2 separate regions of the Homo sapiens genome follow, and region 2 is linked to region 1. The links are contacts of gene promoters, found by promoter capture Hi-C in blood cells and fetal thymus (Javierre and others, 2016). All regions are on one chromosome and are shown on one strand. Each heading gives the region's core, a stretch centred on a gene start or on the middle of the fragment in contact. The rest is flanking DNA. Distances are from core to core; before and after follow the strand shown. Region 1 holds the start of ADAP1 (ArfGAP with dual PH domains 1). Region 2 overlaps LOC105375118 (a long non-coding RNA gene).

Region 1 (6,960 bases), core at 3,289-5,788:
GAGGCTGCACCAATTTGGGTGTGAACTTTGTAAACACTACTGCCCGATGGTCGCTGCGGAAAGGGGCCAGGGCTGGTGGGGGGAGAGCACCTCCCGGGGTCCCGCGTCGGGTCTGGGCCTCCTCCCCATGCCAAGTGCGTGATTCCGGCCCCCGAGGACCCTGCTGGTCCCAGGCCTCAAGAGATGGCACCTGGGGAGACCTGGGCCGTGACTGGAGTGGTCAGGCCAACGCCAGCTGCCCAGCGGGGGAGGAAAGGATGGGGGATGGCAGGACCCCTGCCCGGGCGCAGTGCCCAGCTCCATACCTGCCACCAGCCCGTCGGTTATGGGGATGGCTCTCCACGACCCCCTTCTCCACTCCAGACCCCATCTCTGTTTGGAAAACCAAGCAAAAGATATGTTCAAATGCCCCAAAACCCAGTAAGCCAACCTGTGCACCCACCTCCATGGCATGACATCTTGGGGAGGCCCCTGAGGACTCCCTGCTTCCAAAGGGGTTTCCGGGTCTAGCCCCACTCCCAGAAAATTGTGCTGAGACCACCTCTGGTCCTGGGTGGTTCCCCCTCCCCTGCATTTCGGGGCGCAGTGGCTATTTCTGGGGAATCCCCGTGTCTCCTTTAAGCCCCTCCTGAGCAGAGCTCTTTAGGATCCGTATGCTGCTGAACTCCTACTCCAGGTGCCCGAGGGGTGGCAGGGCCCTCACAGCAGTCAGAAGGCCCAGGAGGGTCTGCGCAGGGCCAAAGGCACGTCGCAGAGGACAGGGTGGAGGCCACAGCCAGTGGGCTTCCCTGGAGGGGGCCGGCCACATGGGGGCCCAACATCACGACCCCCATCCCCACAGCTGAGGCAGGTAGAGCCAGGAGCTGCCCACCCCTGCGCTGAGCCTGGATGTTGAAGACCCCTGCTTGGCCTGCAGGGCGGCCTACTGAGCTCACGGCCATCGTGCCAGACGCTGTCCAAGCGCAGATAATTTGACTGAATTAGCCCCGGCCCCTGTGCGGGGTGGAGAGGGAAGTGAACCTCCACAACCTCCCCTCCCCTGAGGCAGCTCCTGGTTGAGCAAGCTCGGCTGACTGTTGGGCAAGATGGTCGCAGAGCAGGGCCCAGCCCGGCCTCAGTCCATTTGCCCCTTCCCTGGGGAGAGCCCCCTTCTGCCTGTGCTGAGAGGCTCACCCCGCAGCTGCAGGCCTGGGAGGAGCCAGCTTCCAATCAAAGTCGCCTGCTGGCCTACCACGCGCAGGCCCCGTGCTCAGGCGACGCTGGAGGAGCTCGCCCTGCTCTCGGGAGCCCCCTGCCCAGGGTCTGCTGTGTGGCCGAGTGGTCACAGGAGGCGGCTGCCTCTGGCTCTGGACTAGGGAGATGCTTGAGGAATGAGTGTCAGGGTCCCTGGTGCAGCCGTGCGGGTCAGTGACAAGGGGCAGGAGGCTCAGCAGAGCTTGTAGGCCACTGGGCATGAGCAGGAGCAGGCACGCCGCCTGTCCAGGCCCCTCGCCAGCCGCTGCTGGCCGGAACAGCCTTTGACCAGCACTGGTCTGGGTCTGGCCCACCCTGAGCTATGCTGTTACCTTCCGGATTCTTCCTGAGTCCTGGGCTCCCCTACTGCCCCGCCCAGCCCTGACCACAGCCAGTCAGGGCAGCAGGATTTCAGGACGGCTGTGCTCTCGGGTCCAGGCAGGTACTTGCGGATCTCGGCCGAGCAGCCTCCTCTTTGGAAGAATCCCCCTCAGCCCCGACATCTCTTAGATCTGAGGGGTTCACCCACCTCTGTCTCATCCTCACGCCCTCCTGCCCCCCGAGCAATGCCACAGTTCCCTTAGCGGGATGGAAGGACAGAGAAGGCAAGACACTCGCCTGCTGGAGCTGCCCCACGGAGGAGGCCCCGGAACAGCAGGCAGTAGATGGCCTTGGCTTGTGCCAGAAGCTCTGGCCTGTTGGGCACCGGCTCCCCTGAGGCCTCCCTGCTGCCTTTTCTATGCCTTGTATGATGGCCTCCCCGTCTTTGGGGACCTTGGGTAACGGCTATGTTAGGGTGTGTTGCTTTGTTATATTGTTTTATGTATATTCCAGTCCTGAGGTGTGTGGCCTCCAGCAAGGGATCGAACCTCCCCGTGCCTCAGTCTTCCCAGCTGAAAATGGGGCTTTAATAAGAAAATACATGTCGGCCGGTCGCGGTGGCTCACGCCCATAATACCAGCACTTTGGGAGGCCTAGGCAGGCGGATCACGAGGTCAGGAGATCGAGAGCATCCTGGCTAACACGGTGAAACCCCGTCTCTACTAAAAATACAAAAAAATTAGCCGGGCGTGGTGGCATGCACCTGTGTCCCAGCTGCTGGGGAGGCTGAGGCAGGAGAATGGTGTGAACCCGGGAGGCGGAGCTTGCAGTGAGCCGAGATCGCACCACTGCACTCCAGCCTGGGTGACAGAGCAAGACTCTGTCTCAAAAAAAAAAAAAAGAAAAAAGAAAATACACGTCAAGCCAGGCGTGGTGGCTCAGGCCTGTAATCCCAGCACTTTCAGAGGCTAAGGCAGGCAGATCACGTGAAGTCAGGTGTTCGAGACCAGCCTGGGCAACATGGTGAAACCCTGTCTCTACCAAAAAATAAAAATATACCTGGGCATGGTGGCACCCATTTGTGGTCCCAGCTACTCAGGAGGCTGAGGCAGGAGAATCACCTGACCCCAGGAAGCAGAGGTTGCAGTGAGCTAAGATCGTGCCACTGCACTCCAGCCTGGGCGATAGACCAAAACCCTGTCTCAAAAAAAAAAAAAAAAAAAGGAAAAAAAGAAAAGAAAAGAAAAGAAAATAGAAAATACAAGTCAGGCTATTTCTCCTAATACCTAGTGCTGAGCTGCTGCTATTAATGTTCGTCTGTCTTTATTAGGCGACATTCTCCAAGCTCATGCTGTGTGGTGGATTCCGAGCCTGGCACAGGGACCCAGAGATGAAAATGCCACCTGTCCCCACCCCAAAGCCTCCCGTCTGAGGGAGGAGAAAGACCCATGTGAACGGTTACAGGGAAAGAGCACGTGATGCCACAGGGCACAGATCCCAGAGACACAGACCAAAACGGGCTGCCGCGTTCTGCTTCAGGTAGACAGAGCTTAAGCAGCTCCATGATTCCACGTCAGCTGGAGCAGGGGGACAGGTGCCTTTGGTGGCACTCTGGTCAGTGCAGCCTCAGTGGAGGCCATTCCACATCCCATACCATTGCCCCAGCGATGCCACTTTGAGAGCAAATCCACACAAAACTCTTGCAAAGATGAGGTTGTGTAGACCATGATTCTGATGCATTCAAAACGCTCTAAATGCCCCTATGCCAGTGACTGGGTGAACAAGTCATGGTTCAGTTGAACTTTTTTTGAGTTTGTTTGTTTGGTTTTTTTTTTTTTTTTTTTTTTTTGAAACGGAGTTTCACTCTTGTTGCCCAGGCTGGAGTGCAATGGCGCAATCTCGGCTCGCTGCAACCTCTGCCTGCCAGGTTCATGCGATTCTCCTGCCTCAGCCTCCCAAGTAGCTGGGATTGCAGGCATGCGCCACCACGCCTGGCTAATTTCTTTGTATTTAGTAGAGACGGGGTTTCACCATGTTGCCCAGGCTGGTCTCAAACTCCTGAGCTCAAGTGATCCACCCGCCAGGGTCTCCCAAAGTGCTGGGATTACAGCCGTTAGCCAAAACCCTGTCTCGATAAATGAATAAATAAATGAAAGGCTACAGGCCTCAGACGTTCGTTCTGGAAGGTGCTGAGGAATTTGTTAACAGTGGTTGCCTGGAAGGCAGTGGGGAGAGGCTTTCCTTTTTCAGTCTGGTATGTTCCAGTTTGTTTTCAGCCGGGTGTACTGCATTAACCCTGCAAGAAGAAAATGGAAAGAATTTGAAAAGATGCTGGGGTGTGCAGAGGAAGGGCACGCGAGTCTGGGAAGAGGTGACATCAAAACCAGGTTTTTTGTTACCTGTCAGCCCCCATGTGAAGTCCCGGCGGGGCCCCTCAGCCTGCCTGAGTGGGAGGGGTGCCCAGAGGGTCCCATCTGTGGGTGGTGGGCGGCTGGGTGGGTCTCAGGGGGAGGCTCCGTCTGGGCCCTGTGTGGCCTCAGTGCCCTGGGACGCTGGCGTTTGTCACCTGCTGGCCGTCCCTCCCAGGCAGGGATGGTGTGAGCGCCCTGGTCCTGGTCCGTAGCACAGGACACGCACACCTGCCTTCCACGAGCACCCCCATGCCCATGGTCTTGGGGGGCTCGGCAGGTGCCCTCTGCGCCCCCCACAGTAGGTGTGCAGGCTCCGTCCCACCGCGCGCGGCGGCACGAGGGTCCCACCCAGGCCGGCCAGGTTTTGGGGCGGCCTCGCGCCCAGGCAGGTGGGACGCTGCGCGCGGATGGGGGGCGGGCGGCGGGCGATTTCCCAGCGGGTCCCCGGGGCGCGCGGGCTGGGGGCGCCGGAGCGGCCGAGGGAGGAGGCCACACGCTCGCCTGCACCGCTGGGGGCCGCCCGCGGGCCTTGCCGGCCAGAGCGCAGCGTGCGCCCCGGGCCCCGCGCCGGCACTCGCTCAGCGACCGCGGCGGAGACACGAGCGGCGGCGGCGGAGCCCAGAGGGCGGCGGGAATGCGGAACCGGCGCGCGGGCTGAGGCCGCCCGGGATGGCGCAGGGGCGGCGGCGGCGGGCGGCCTGCGCGGGGCCCTAGCGAGCCGGGCTGACGCTCCCGGCCCCGGCCCCGGCATCGGCATCGCGGGCGCATCGCGGCCATGGCCAAGGAGCGGCGCAGGGCGGTCCTGGAGCTGCTGCAGCGGCCGGGGAACGCGCGCTGCGCGGACTGCGGCGCCCCGGGTAGGTGTGGGCCGGGTGGGCGCGGGGCCGGGTGGGTCCGGGGTGGGCGCGGGGTGCCGGGCGGGTCCTGGGTGGGCCCCGGGGACCGGGCGGGGGAGCGCGGACGCCGCGGGGGTGGCGGCGCTGAACACCGGGCCGGATCGGCGCTCGGATGGGGCCCGGGCCCGGCTGCACCTGCGGGGACCCGGACGTCTTCCCGGGCCGGGCGCAGCGGGGGGGCCCCCCCCAGGACCCCCGGAAACCCCCCTGCCGCCGCCTCCCCTCCCCCGCCGGGCTGCGTGTCTGACGGTCACCGCGGACCGCCCGCCGCGTTGCGAAAGCTCGGGCTCCGCACAGAAAGAGGAAATCGGGGCTGGCTGCAGGGAGGGAACGGGCCGCCAGCCGGAGGTCTCTGCTGGGCTGTGGGGTCCGCCGGCTCCGGGGCCACCTCGCGGTGACGTCATGCCTCACGCCCTTCCCGCACCGGGGGTCCCTGGGTGTGAGCGGCGCCCCTGCCCCCGGCTCCCTGCACCTGGCTGCTCCGGGGCGGGCGCCAGGACAGGTGAGGCCTGGGAGAGGTGGGGCCGGACGCAGGTCCTGGTCCACCCGCCGCCCGCCCGTTCGTTCTCCCGGCCGGGCATCCCTGACTCGGTTCCCAGGTCTGTGGGATTTCAAGGCACTGGAGTCCAAAGGCGCGGAGTCCCTCCCTTCCAGGCCACTGGTCCTGTCATTGGCTGTGAACGGGGCCCAGTGCCCAGACCAGCCCTGCCCTGCTCGGGAGCTGTCAGCCCCAGGCCGGCTGCGCTGTGGAGAGAGGGCCCCGCCGGAGCAGTCCCGCCACCCCAGGCACACCAGGAATCTGGGGGCCAATAGTCTAAGCCCCTCGGAACAAACCTAAACTCACCGGCGGTGACTGAGGCCCCCAGGGAGGGAGCGGGGGAAGACCTTGCATTTGCCTCCAAGGCCCTGGTTCAATATGCAGCCTCTGGACACCCCGGAAAAAGGGGTGTCCCTGATTCCCTCTGGGATGGAGGGGTCTCTGCCAGCCCCAGGTCGTGGTGGCTGCTGTCCAGCTGCAGCTTGGCTGGAAAGGCCACATCAGGAGCTGGGGTGTCCCAGAGGGGAGATAGCGACAGGCTTTTCTGGAAAGACAGGCAGGACCCACGGCCTTTCCATGGTCTCCTGAGACAGGACGGCCACAGGGCCCGTGCAATGGTGCGGTGGGGGTGGCCCCCTGGGCTGGCTCACCCCAGACTCTCTCCCCACAGACCTTTATTTCCTCCTGTTCAGGAACGCTCCCCAGGAAAGCCAGTGGGAAAGGGCCTGGCCTGGGGTTGCTGTGGCCCACGGGGAGGGGAGCTGGGCTTGCCTCTGAACCTCTGCTCCCTGGCCACACAGCCTGGGAGCAGCTTCTCTGGACTCAGGGCCCCTCTCCAGCCACCCTCTGGGCCTCCCAGCCTGGCAGGAGGAAGAGGGGACTTCCTTGGCCTGCTGGGTCCTTCAGTGGTCCTCCCCTCCCAGTGGGTGCAGGTGTGCCCGGCCCACCTGCTAAGCTTCCAGCCTGGCCCACCCCAGAGCTGTTCTCTGCCGTCCCTATGCCCCACGCTGCCGGGTAGAGGGCCGCACCTCTGCCTTTTCAGAATCTGTCCATGACCTCAGTGACTTGTCTCCTCTGTCGGGTAGCGCCATGGAGGGGGGATGCTGTGAGGGGTCACTCTCATTTCACAGCCAGGGAGACTGATGCCTTGCAAAGGGAGCTGTCTTAGGGGACATGAGCCACACCCGGCCGCTCTGCTTGTCCCCGCTCCCCAGGGCTGTGGCCACAGGGTGGAACAGGCGGTGTCAGGAGGCAGGGGGCTGCCTAGCCCCCCATGACCCCATGGCACATCCTCGAGGGCTCTATGCTTCTTTGCTGATGCCAGCTGCTCTGGGGCCTCCTGTACCTGCTGTGGCCCAGCTGGGTGACAAGGAGCCACTCCAGTGTTGATGGGGGCTGGGGTGGCCGGCACGTTCTGCTGTCCTCAGAACACTGTCCTGTGCACTGGCTCACGGCTGGTGCAGACCTGGACAGCAGGACATCAGACAGTCCCAGACCACCTCTGAACGCCAGGCCTGGGGCTGCTGGGGTGGACTTGAGCAGGCCCCACCCACTGGCCGTG
Region 2 (6,465 bases), core at 923-3,422, 630 kb after region 1:
AGGCCACGCTGACCCAGTGGGGAGTGGGGAAGGGCAGTGCAGGGAGGACAATGGGGAGTTTGTTCTGAGCATGTCCTGGCTGAGATGCCTGCTGGACTTCAAGCTCAAGAAACCTCTTGGATTTAAATCTAGAGTTGAGAGGAGAGGTTGTCCTTCAGGGGTCCATATGAAAGCTTCAGGTGCTTCCGAGGGATCCTCTGGCATGACAGGTCTGAGCCCGTCTTTCCCTCTCCGGCACTGCAGGGCTCCCGCAGTTCTGCTTAGATTCCTAGCAGCCTCTGCTCAGCCCCTCTGCGCTCACCCTGTGCTGCTTGCAAACAGACACCCTGGACTGTTGGGATCCTTTCCTCTCCCCGGGATCTTGTCTCTCCAAGCCCTGGCTGTGTGAGCAGTCCTGCACTCTGATTCTCGTCTTCCTGCTGGCACGACAGTGTTGAAAGCTCCTCTGAGCTTCTCGGATTCTCAGCAGACCTCCCTGCTCAGCTTCTCAGCATCTCTGCTCATGCCAGTTATGAGTTTGCGGTTGCCCCAAAGGGTGCAGAAGTTCGGGTCACCTCAACGCGTTTCCCTCCCCCACAATGTCTTGGGCCTTCAGGTCCTGGCTGCCTTGGTAACTCTCTGACACATTGAGACACATGTGGTCATTTGTTTTCTCCAACCTGGTTGATGGAAGCCAAAAGTGGACTCCTTTTTATTTTTTTGTTTTTTGACAGGGTCTTTCTCTTTTGCCCAGGCTGGAGTGCAGTGATGCGGTCACAGCTCACTGCAGCCTCAACGTCCTGGGCTGAAGCCATCCTGCCGCCTCAGCCTCTTGAGTATCTGGGAGCACAGGTGTACACCACCATGCCCGGTTAATTTATTTTTGTAGAGACGGTGTCTCGTCATGTTGCCCAGCGTTCCGCCTAGGCCTCCCGAAGTGCTGGGATTGCAGGTGTGAGCCACTGTGCCCAGCCTCCTCGTTTTTCTTACAGTTGTGTTTCACTTTATGGATCTATTATGATTTATATAACAACCTCTTATCAACGGGCTTTTAGGCCATTGTAAATAATGCTGCAGTGAGTAATTTCACACATAGACGGCCTCACCTGTGCGCAATGGTATCTATAGGATAAGCAGAATTGCCGGGCCAAAGGGCAGATGCATTTACATTTTTATTGATGTTGCCAACTTCGTGGCCATAAACGTTGTGCTAACTTGTCCTTTCATCAGCTATGTACGAGAGCGCCTGCTTCCCCACAAGTCTGTCAACATTGAGGGTTGCCTGGCATTTTGCTTTTTGCCAGTCTGACCCGTCATAAAATGGAACCTCCATTTAGTTTCAATTTGTGTTTCCTTGTTACCAGTGTGGTTGGGTGTCTTTCTATGTGTTAAAATGCCAGTTGCCGGCCGGCGCTGTGGCTCACGCCTGTAATCCCAGCACTTTGGGAGGCCAAGACGGGTGGATCACGAGGTTGGGAGATTGAGACCATCCTGGCTAACACGGTGAAACTCCGTCTCTACTAAAAATACAAAATATTAGCCGGGCGTGGTGGCGGGAACATGTAGTCCCAGCTACTCGGGAGGCTGAGGCAGGAGAATGGTGTGAACCCGGGAGGTGGAGCTTGCAGTGAGCCGAGATTGGTCCACTGCCCCCCAGTCTGGGCGACAGAGCGAGACTCTGTCAAAAAAAAAAAAAAAGCCAGTTGCCCATTTAAGTTCTTTACTCATGTTTTGATGAGTTTGCTGGTCTTTATCTCATTGTTTTCAGGAGGGTTTTTTTAAATGTATTTGGGAAAGTAGCATCTTGTCTACCGTATGAGTTGCTAATACCTCTTCCTCAGTTGGTTGGCTATCTGTTAACTTTGGCTTGCAGTATTTTAATATTTTTAAATGTATGTCTTGCATATTTCTTTTCTTTCTTTCTTTTTTTTTAGATGGAGTCTCACTCTGTCTCCAAGGCTGGAGTGCAGTGGCACAACCTCGGCTCACTGCAACCTCCACCTCCCTCATTCAAGTGATTCTCCTGCCTCAGTCTCCCCAGTAGCTGGGATTACAGGCGCATGCCACCACGCCCGGATGATTTTTGTATTTTTAGTAGAGATGGGGTTTCACCATGTTGGCCAGGTTGGTCTTGAACTCCTGACCTCAGGTGATCCGCCTGCCTCGACCTCACAAAGTGCTGGGACTACAGGTGTGAGCCACCACGCCCGACCGATGTCCTGCATATTTCTTATTAGGCTTATTCCTAGAAGTTTGTTGTTTTTGCTACTGCTAAAATATGCTATTTAATGTCATTAACTTTGCTAACTGAGGCCAGAGCTACGGGAAACTAAACGAAGTTAACCAACCAACCGAGCAAATAGCAAGTGCTTACTGAGCCTCTATATCGTCCTCACAATATTGTCGGAATGAAGCTGCCATGTTGGGTGTTGCAGGGACAAGAGAGTAGAAGATTCAATCAATCCTCGCTTTTAAGTTGTTCAAAATTGATTGAAAAAGACATAGAGAGACACAAAGACACAGCCTGGGTGGGGACAGGTGGGCGGCCCCAGGTGAGGGGCAGGCACCGAGGTCATCACGGGCGCTGGCGTTCAGGCCTTCCGGGTGGCAGCAGGGTGGGTTGAAAGGGGACTGTGGCCGACAGGAACATGGGCAGAGGACTGGCCAAGCAATTTCTAAGAGAAAAAAGGAACACCCACGATGAACACAGGAAAAACATACCCTCCTCTCCAGTACTTAAAAAAAAATGACATTTTACTGGCCCAACGAAGTGGCAAAGATTTCCTTCAAGGGTAAAACCTTGGGTAGGAGAGTCTTCAACAGAAACAGAGGCGGAGGGGAATGGCCACCATCCCTCTACGCACCTGTCCGGGCAGCGGGGCAGTGGGCCATGATCCTGAGCGTGTCCTGCGTACCAGGCACCCCGGGCAAGCAACAGAGAACCAGGCAGGTGTGGGAAACCATGTTCTGGCTGGGGAAGCAGACAATACCCAAGTCAGCAAGTGAATATGGGAGCGTGAATTGTGACCAGCATCACCCCACAAGAGGGAATGAACGGGACATTGAGGGAGGGAGTTGTGGGGGACCATGGGGCCGGCGTTTCCCTCACAGAGGGTGATATGAAGGGGAGGTGGCATCTGAGCAGAGAGGTGAAGAATGCAAAGGGGCCGGCCGCGTGGAGACAGCGGGGAGGAGAGGTCCAGGCAGAGAGATTAGAATGAGCCAAGGCTCTGCCTGGGAGCCGTGGCGGGCAGGCGGGCATCTCTCTCTCTCCCCATGGTCTCAGGGCTTCTCCACGTGCGATAGTTTCACAGCACGGTGGCCTCGGAGCATCCAGACGGCTAACTGGACAGCTCGGGGTTGCACGTGCCTGTTCCCAGAGACCAGGCTGACACCGACGCCTCCCGTGACTTCAGACCCCACAAGTCACGCAGATGGTTTCTGCCGTTGCCACAAGCCCACCCTGGAGGCCAGGGCAGGGGCCTGGACCCCACCTTCCTATCAGTCTCTCATAAGAAGAGCCCCTGGCTGGGCTGGGAGATGTCGCTGTGGCCACCATGGGGCAGCCAGTGGGCAGAGTGAAGAGCCAGGCATAGAGGCCGGCAGAGACCCGACAGTGCAGGTGCCTGGCGGGCCGGGATGGGCCAGGTGGACGGGAAGGACAGTGGCTATGAGATTCAAAGCGCCTGCTGAAAGGACTCATCCTGGCTGCCTGTGCGCCAGAGCTGCATGCAAAGGGCAAGGTGGGTGCGGGGAGACTGGGCAGGACCCTGTCTCACAGCTCCTGCTCGGCCCCCTGGCTGAGGTGAGGAGGGCCACACCTGAGGTCCTCCCCTAACAGGGACCACATGTTTCCTCATGCTCTTGGCCAAAATGAGATGACCATCTTGGTGGTGTGTGCGCTGCAAAGTGAGCCTGCCAGGCCAATGGGAATAGATTCAGCAGAATAACACCCAAACGTAATTCAAGCAAAGACAAACATCTCATGTCAGGCTCACGGCATTCAGAGAAACATGGGAGAATTCCTGCCTCCGTGCATGGGCCAATCAGATAGGGCCACTCCTGAGTTGCTCTGTGTTGGGAAATGACCTAATAGCCTTACAGCTTGTTACTGATTAATTTTGTTTGATGTGGGAGGCTGCATGGATTTTTAATAAGGGCTACTTGTAATTGCAAGCCGACTGAAGCTTCCAGAATCATGAAGTGCATTTCAGGGAATTTTGCAAAACACAGGACACAAGGCCTGTGTGCCCAGCACTCCCAGCTGGTAATTACATTCGAGCTGCTGTGTAGAGAGAACCTAGGGGCTCTCGTTAACTAATGACAGGAATTAGGGAGCTATTAGTGCCTGCTGGTGGGACCCGGCTCTTCCCTCATAAATCTCCAGCCCGTTGATATCCTGGCCTCCCAGTGAGTTGGGGTTTTAGTCTGTATATTAGAAAGTGCTGAGAGAGGGGAAACCAAATACAGAGAAAACTTCTAAGTCCCCCAGGCCAAGGGACATGCATGGGCCCCTGACATCTGTGCCAATCTGCTCTGCCCCCTTAAAAGAAGCCGTGACGACAGCCAGGGCGGCCACGCCGGGTACTGGGTCCTGGGTCTGAACATGACAGCTGCCCACTGGTGTATCCACAGCTTCACACGGGGACCAGCGCCCATCTCTGTCTCAACCGCCCCAGGAACAAGCCTTGTTTCTGAGCAGTGGCCACCTCTGTGGGTCTCTGGAAACTTGGCCATAAGTGCCAGCTAGCTGGTGGGAAGGACAGGGAGTGAGTGGGCTGGACACACAGACAGCAGGCCACGCAGTGCCTGGGGTATCCAGGAAAACAGCACAAGGACAGAAACCAGCTACAGGTGCAGATGAGGGGAAGAAATGAGTTAGGAAGCAATGGGCTGCATGGAACAGAAAAGACAAATCAACTGCCTTCACTGAGAGGGAACGGACTGATGCCGGGAGGTCTGGAGGCAGGTGGCGTTCAGGCTTGGCTTGACCCAGCGGCTCAACGAGGCTGTCACGGCCTCAATTTCTTTCCATCTCTGCCCTCTGCATAGTTGGCCTTATTCCAAAGCCAGCTCTTCCTCATGGGCACAAAATAGCTGCTGCAGTGCCAGGCTTCACATCGCATATCCCACCCTGCCCAGGAGAGAGGATGTGTCTGTCCCTGCAGTCTGCATGAGGAGCACCCTGATTGGATGCCTGGGCTATGTGAGAACACGGCCAGGGGAGAGGACTGTGTGAGCACACGGCCAGGGGAGAGGACTGTGTGACGAATGTGAGGGAATCACGGCTCCTTTGGAAGAGGGGTTGTGGGCAGCTTGGCCCAAGCACACAGAGACGGATGGGTGGGGGACGGACGCTTGAACAGTGGAGCCAGAGCTGGAACTCAGGGCCGGATGGAAGGGAGCTTGCCCCTGCACAAGGCATTCAGGTTTTATTTTTAAGATGATCAGGAGCTAGGAATGCTTTCGGCTGGAGGGAGGGAGGTCTATGCAGCTGGAGAGGGGGGAGGTGGGGTGTGGGGGCTGGGGCCAGGAGGTGTGTGGGGCAGAGACAGTGGGTGAAGGGAGAGGGGCTGGGTGGGGCACTGGAAGCCGTCTGCTCTACCCCACACTGTGGACTCACGCCGTCCTCACAACCACTCGGCAGCAACGTCTCCCTCCATCGTGGAAGGAGAAGGGTGGGCAGGTGGCTGCCAATGCCACTCCCATTTTCAAATGTGGAGACTGAGACACAGAACCACAGGTTTCAAGATGACACAGCCAGTAAAGGATTTGAACCTGGGCCTGTGGAACCCACTCCCACATGACACCCTTGAGGGACAGGGAGGTGGCGGGTGGCAGCTTCTGGGCAGACCAGAGGCTCATACTCGGAGAGGAGATGGGTGAAGACCCAGACACCTGCGGAGACGGTCATGGGGCTGACTGGCGGGACGGGGGAGGTAAGGACCGACTTGGCTTGCGACCTTTAGTGTTTGGGACAATGGTGGGTAAGTAGGCAGTTTTGCCTGTGTCGGGAAAATTTTAAGACTTTGAAATGGGCAAAAAGGATTGTGTGTCCCGTCTCCCGCACCCTTCCGGGGTCTTGCGGCCTTTCACGCTCTTTTGCAGAAACCTGACAATAATACAATAATACAAATGATGCGTGTCCGTAAAAATGCAAGTTAACCTTGTCTGGTGGAATGCCGTCGATCATTACATCATCTGTAAATCCACTTCGGTGCTCCTTGTTTTTTTTTTTTTTTTTTTTTTTTGAGACAGAATCTCGCTCTGTCTCCCAGGCTGGAGTGCAGTGGCGCGATCTCGGCTCACTGCAACCTCCGCCTCCTGAGTTCAAGCAATTCTCCTGCCTCAGCCTCCAAGTAGCTGGGACTGCAGGTGCCCATCACCACACCCGGCTAATTTTTGTAATTTTAGTAGAGATGGGGTTTCGCCATGTTGGCCAGGCTGGTCTTGAACTCCTGACCTCAAGTGATCCACCCTCCTTGG

What was found. Contacts are between HindIII fragments. The CHiCAGO score rates a contact against its expected background, and 5 or more counts as called.
Region 2: a contact is called between a fragment that was not itself captured here and the fragment with the promoter of ADAP1 in region 1, in 1 of 17 cell types (naive B cells). The highest score is 5.7, in naive B cells.

The regions. Positions count from the first base shown.
Region 1 is chr7:952,258-959,217 of GRCh38, reverse strand. ADAP1 (ArfGAP with dual PH domains 1) reads left to right here and starts at 4,538. Exons shown (of 11, transcript NM_006869.4): 1 at 4,538-4,822. The coding sequence starts at 4,741. It overlaps LOC124901569 (a long non-coding RNA gene), which reads right to left and starts at 4,364. Exons shown (of 2, transcript XR_007060178.1): 1 at 3,954-4,364; 2 at 3,728-3,850. RefSeq lists silencers at 931-990, 4,232-4,331, 4,187-4,342, 4,362-4,851, 5,142-5,351 and enhancers at 3,645-4,254, 5,477-6,088. The HindIII fragment of the contact is 7,508 bases long and covers 1-6,356 here.
Region 2 is chr7:324,613-331,077 of GRCh38, reverse strand. LOC105375118 (a long non-coding RNA gene) reads left to right here. Exons shown (of 3, transcript XR_926965.4): 3 at 1-1,451. Among named protein-coding and RNA genes, the nearest start is that of FOXL3-OT1, 37 kb to the right of the region's middle. The HindIII fragment of the contact is 3,993 bases long and covers 176-4,168 here.